2 separate regions of the Homo sapiens genome follow, and region 1 is linked to region 2. Evidence: promoter capture Hi-C in 16 types of primary human blood cells and fetal thymus (Javierre and others, 2016). All regions are on one chromosome and are shown on one strand. The core of a region is centred on a gene start or on the middle of the fragment in contact, and the rest is flanking DNA. Distances in the headings are between cores, read along the strand shown.

Evidence for each region. Contacts are between HindIII fragments. The CHiCAGO score rates a contact against its expected background, and 5 or more counts as called.
Region 1: a contact is called between a fragment that was not itself captured here and the fragment with the promoter of SLC26A4 in region 2, in 1 of 17 cell types (naive B cells). The highest score is 5.3, in naive B cells.

What each region holds. Positions count from the first base shown.
Region 1 is chr7:107,570,663-107,573,362 of GRCh38, forward strand. It overlaps DUS4L-BCAP29 (DUS4L-BCAP29 readthrough), which reads left to right. Exons shown (of 13, transcript NR_163941.2): 4 at 483-604. DUS4L (dihydrouridine synthase 4 like) reads left to right here. Exons shown (of 8, transcript NM_181581.3): 4 at 483-604. Among named protein-coding and RNA genes, the nearest start is that of DUS4L-BCAP29, 8.0 kb to the left of the region's middle. The HindIII fragment of the contact is 1,159 bases long and covers 708-1,866 here.
Region 2 is chr7:107,659,380-107,662,129 of GRCh38, forward strand. It overlaps SLC26A4 (solute carrier family 26 member 4), which reads left to right and starts at 1,449. Exons shown (of 21, transcript NM_000441.2): 1 at 1,449-1,476; 2 at 2,260-2,426. The coding sequence starts at 2,263. SLC26A4-AS1 (SLC26A4 antisense RNA 1) reads right to left here and starts at 2,419. Exons shown (of 2, transcript NR_028137.1): 1 at 2,223-2,419; 2 at 1-827. The HindIII fragment of the contact is 14,838 bases long and covers 1-2,750 here.

The DNA.
Region 1 (2,700 bases), core at 37-2,536, 89 kb before region 2:
TGGCCTTTGCTAATGGAGATAAAGCCATAGCTTTTTCTACAGTATTTGGCTGGAGTAGAACTGTCTAAAAGTTTTCTGTCTTACTAGGTCAGACAGAACATTTTCCTGGTCCTTTGGTTAGAGAAGGCTTTTGTTGGGGCTGGTTTTGTCTGCATCCATTGTTGTTTCCAGGTGGCCAGCTTCTTCAAGTCTAGGATATTTGAGACAAAAATAAAACCCAGAGAACTCACCACCCTGTCATTCCTCAGGTCCTGAGGTCACTAGCCTATCTGGACATCTTTTCTTCACCTTTCAAAATTTTCTTGTGTTTGTTTTATATATAATATCCAAGGTTTTTAGTAATACTTAACAGGAATAATAGGGAAAAGTAAATCTCCTCCATCTCCCCATAGGTAGAACTTTCTCTGATAAATATTTAACAATGCACTAAAATATGTTTGTGGTGTTTCTAAATGCATAATTAAGGTTTTATATGCTCACAGGTTGGCTTTTAGGACACTAGTAAGAAAATATAGTTGTGATCTGTGTTACACACCAATGATTGTTGCCGCTGATTTTGTCAAATCTATAAAAGCCAGAGACAGCGAATTTACCACAAATCAAGGTATGTGAAACCGAGTGTACTGACTTTGTAAAACTTTTTAAATTTGTTTACAAACTCAACTATCTTATCAGAAACAACACAATTTAGAGATTTTATGTGAAGAAGCTTTAGTTCTTTAGTGTTTTTAATAAGTATTTTTTACATGTTATTACTGAATGCCTTGCAAACTATCAGTGTATATACCAAAGTGTAAGGTCACTTTGAAACCCTCTCCTCTCACTAGGGCTACTAGAGTAGATTCCTGTCACACTGCCTCTAGTCTTGTACCATTCCAAACTATCCTCCAAGGAGACCAAAGTGACCTATTGAACATGTAAATTTTTCTCTCATTGTTCTCAAAGTGTGATCCCCAGACCAGCAGCATCAGTATTATCTGGAAACTTGTTAGAAATGGAGATTTACAGGTGTACTAAATCAGAAATTCCACATATGTGGTCCAGCAATCTGTGTTTTAAAAGCTCTCCAGGTAATTCTGAGCTTGTTAAAGGTTGAGAACTACTGGCTTAAAGACTAAAATTTCAGCACCTAAAGATAATACACAGTTTTTCATAATCTGACCTCTGAATACATCTTCTGCAGCCTTATCTTCCTTCAGTTTCTCCCCACACCCCACTGACTTTATCCTTCAAAATTCCTAAGTTATTTTAAGTCCTTGAACATACACTGTCTTCTCACACCAGACCCCCTCTCTCTCTTGCAAACTGTAGTTTATGTTTCGTCATTCAGCTCTCAATATTTGTAGCCATGAATCTTTTTTTTTTTTTTTGATCATCCTCTACTCATGTCCTCCCTGCTAAGCACAGGCTCTTATGTTGCACTTAATCACTTAATTCTACTGCATTATGATTTCCTCTTTATATGCCTGTTTCTCCCATTAGGTTCGGCCTCCTTGAGGGCTGTAGCTTTAGAAATAGCTTGATTTGTATCCTCAGCATCTAGTACAGTGTTGGAAATATATTAGACCAATAAATGGTTGTTAAATTGAAATTCTGTAACTCTCTTGAGTTACAAAAGGGAAAGCACCTTACATCTCCATAAAGAATAAAGCAAATTCTCCTAAACCATCATAATCCTGTAAATCAGTAGATTGCCATAGGAATCTTGAATCAGTGCAACTAGGATGATGCCCACAAATCTGCATTTTCATAAACACCCAGTGAATCTCATACAAGTATTCCTCAAAAGAAATGTTGAAATACATCTAAACAGAGTTTATAACACTGACCCAAGGATACGAAAAATATGTTCTTTAAAACCTAGGAAGCTTTAATACATTCGGCTGTATTAAAATTAAAACTTTGGGCCAGAGGCGGTGGCTCATGCCTGTAATCTTAGCGCTTTGGGAGGCCAAGGTGGGTGGATCACCTGAGGTCAGGAGTTTGAGACCAGCCTGACCAACATGGTGAAACCCTATCTCTACTAAAAATGCAAAAATTGGCTGGCCATGGTGGCAGGTGCCTGTAATCCTAGCTACTTGGGAGACTGAGCCGGAGAATCACTTGAACCTGGGACGCAGAGGTTGCAGTGAGCTGAGATTGTGCCACTGCACTCCAGCCTGGGTGACAGACTCTGTCTCAAAAAAAAAAAAAAATTAAACATTTATATGTAAGAGCACAAATATACTCAAAGACAAAAAACTGAGGAGAATATTTATAACACATGATAGATAGCAATACTAATTTCTTTGTTTTATTAAAAAAATTACAAATAAAAAGAACAACTAATGGAAAAATTATATACAGAAAAATGCAAAGAATATGAAGAGAGCTCACAAATTAGAATATTCAAATGTTGGATATACACTGTATGATAAGTTGTGAGGAAACAAGAACTTTTATCCATATTGGTATATGTCTATATTGGTAAACTCTTGAAAGATAATTCTGTAATATCTATCACAGTGTTGTATGTTAAATGCCTATTAACAATTCTCCTAAGAATTTACCCTATGAATATACTCAGAGCATGTGAAACAGTCTAAAAATACACTATATGGTCCATCCGTACAGCGGAATATCCCACTATAAAGAAGAAAATAGGTCTGAGTACATCTCCCAGATACATGAGGAAAGAAAGGAACACTAGGCACAGTGGTA
Region 2 (2,750 bases), core at 199-2,698:
TGAGCTATACATCCAACAATAATGAAAAAATACACGCATATATACATATATGGAGAGAGATACATATTTTAGTACATGTAGCAATTGATTAATAAATGTACAGTTTAAGTCGCATGCAAAACCTTGGAGTGATAGCAAACTTCATTGTAGGATGTTTAGCAGCATCTCTGGTCTCTACTCACTAGATCCCAATAGCATCTCCCTAGGTGTGACAACCAAAAATGTCTCCAGGCATTGACCTCTGGAGGCAAAAAAAGCCCTTTATTAAGAACCAGTGGTATACATAAGTAAAACATACACAAGAGATTCCTCCCCTCTTCTCTGTATGTGAATAAAAATTGCAAAGTTCATGACCTGGATTTTCCTTTTAGGTTTCTTCTTTAGTGGTTCTTAACTTCATTGGGTGAAGTAAGCCTTTGAAGATCTGTTGAAAGCTGTTGACTCATTCACTTCTCAGGAAAACGCACATGCTGACTACCATTTCAGAGAATTTGCATCAGGGTTCTCTGGGGAGGAGTTCTGAGTTCTGTTTCCAGGAGCTCGTAGAATTGTCATGGTCTGCATATGCAAGGCAGGTGGATTACGGAAGGTTGATGTACAGAGGTCTGTATTTTGGAGCCTCTTCTGTATTTACTTCAGAACACTAACAATCAGGCGAGAATGTTCTGGTTTATCAAACCCTTCCTTCTGCCTTTCATCTTAACCATGCATTAGTTTTAACAAAGTTCATCCCAACAGAAGACAAAACACTGATGAGGTAGGATAGCTCCAGCTCCTCCTCCCTCTCTTCTAGTCTTGATTTCCATGTAGTCCAGTTTATTCCTTCCCTGATTGTCCAGGAGAATGAGAAAAAGAAAAAACAGAGTCTAGTGGGTAAGAAAGGGCCACCTGGACGGCTTGATTTGGATTGTGAAATAAAACACACACACATGCACACGTAGAATAAGTGGCTAAAATCTGAGTAAATCGTGAACTCTCTGTATCCTCCACCCATTGAATACTCCTAAAAGACTTTCTAGAAATTCAAGGACTTATTAATATAGAAACCTGGCCATTGTTCCTCTTCTCCTCCCCATGTGGTATGAGAGCACCTGTGGCAGGCTCCCAGAGACCACGGACCTCTTCCTCTAGGCGGGCTCTGCTCTTCTTTAAGGAGTCCCACAGGGCCTGGCCCGCCCCTGACCTCGCAACCCTTGAGATTAGTAACGGGATGAGTGAGGATCCGGGTGGCCCCTGCGTGGCAGCCAGTAAGAGTCTCAGCCTTCCCGGTTCGGGAAAGGGGAAGAATGCAGGAGGGGTAGGATTTCTTTCCTGATAGGATCGGTTGGGAAAGACCGCAGCCTGTGTGTGTCTTTCCCTTCGACCAAGGTGTCTGTTGCTCCGTAAATAAAACGTCCCACTGCCTTCTGAGAGCGCTATAAAGGCAGCGGAAGGGTAGTCCGCGGGGCATTCCGGGCGGGGCGCGAGCAGAGACAGGTGAGTTCGCCCTGAAGATGCCCACACCGCCCGGCCCGGGCTCCACTCCCGGGGAGGCCTCGAGGGTTGCGGATGGGACTCTTAAGTGGTCACGGATCAGGTGGGCAGGGGGCAGTACAGCTTTCTTTCTGAGACGCCGAGAGCGAACAGGCTGCTCGGAAAACAGGACGAGGGGAGAGACTTGCTCAATAAGCTGAAAGTTCTGCCCCCGAGAGGGCTGCGACAGCTGCTGGAATGTGCCTGCAGCGTCCGCCTCTTGGGGACCCGCGGAGCGCGCCCTGACGGTTCCACGCCTGGCCCGGGGGTCTGCACCTCTCCTCCAGTGCGCACCTGGAGCTGCGTCCCGGGTCAGGTGCGGGGAGGGAGGGAATCTCAGTGTCCCCTTCCAGCCTTGCAAGCGCCTTTGGCCCCTGCCCCAGCCCCTCGGTTTGGGGGAGATTTCAGAACGCGGACAGCGCCCTGGCTGCGGGCCATAGGGGACTGGGTGGAACTCGGGAAGCCCCCAGAGCAGGGGCTTACTCGCTTCAAGTTTGGGGAACCCCGGGCAGCGGGTGCAGGCCACGAGACCCGAAGGTTCTCAGGTGCCCCCCTGCAGGCTGGCCGTGCGCGCCGTGGGGCGCTTGTCGCGAGCGCCGAGGGCTGCAGGACGCGGACCAGACTCGCGGTGCAGGGGGGCCTGGCTGCAGCTAACAGGTGATCCCGTTCTTTCTGTTCCTCGCTCTTCCCCTCCGATCGTCCTCGCTTACCGCGTGTCCTCCCTCCTCGCTGTCCTCTGGCTCGCAGGTCATGGCAGCGCCAGGCGGCAGGTCGGAGCCGCCGCAGCTCCCCGAGTACAGCTGCAGCTACATGGTGTCGCGGCCGGTCTACAGCGAGCTCGCTTTCCAGCAACAGCACGAGCGGCGCCTGCAGGAGCGCAAGACGCTGCGGGAGAGCCTGGCCAAGTGCTGCAGGTAGCGGCCGCGCGGGCCTGCGTAGAGAGAAGCGGAGCGGGGCGTCCACGCCTTGGGGAGGGAAGGGCGTCCCCAGCGGGCGAGAGTGGGGTGCGGGCGGCGGAGCCCCTGGGCGCCAGCTGCTTCTCCCAGAGGCCCGACTTTCGGTCTCCGGTCCTCCACGCCGCCCTTCTGGTGGGAGGGTGGCTCCATCAGTCTCGGGCCCGAAATGAACTTACCTGGGAAACTCGCCTTTGGGGAGAGTGGGTTCTAGGAGCCCCGTCTCTCTTTTTCCTCTCTGAAGGAAACTTGGAGTGCCTCTTGGGGTACAGTGGGTCCCTGTTG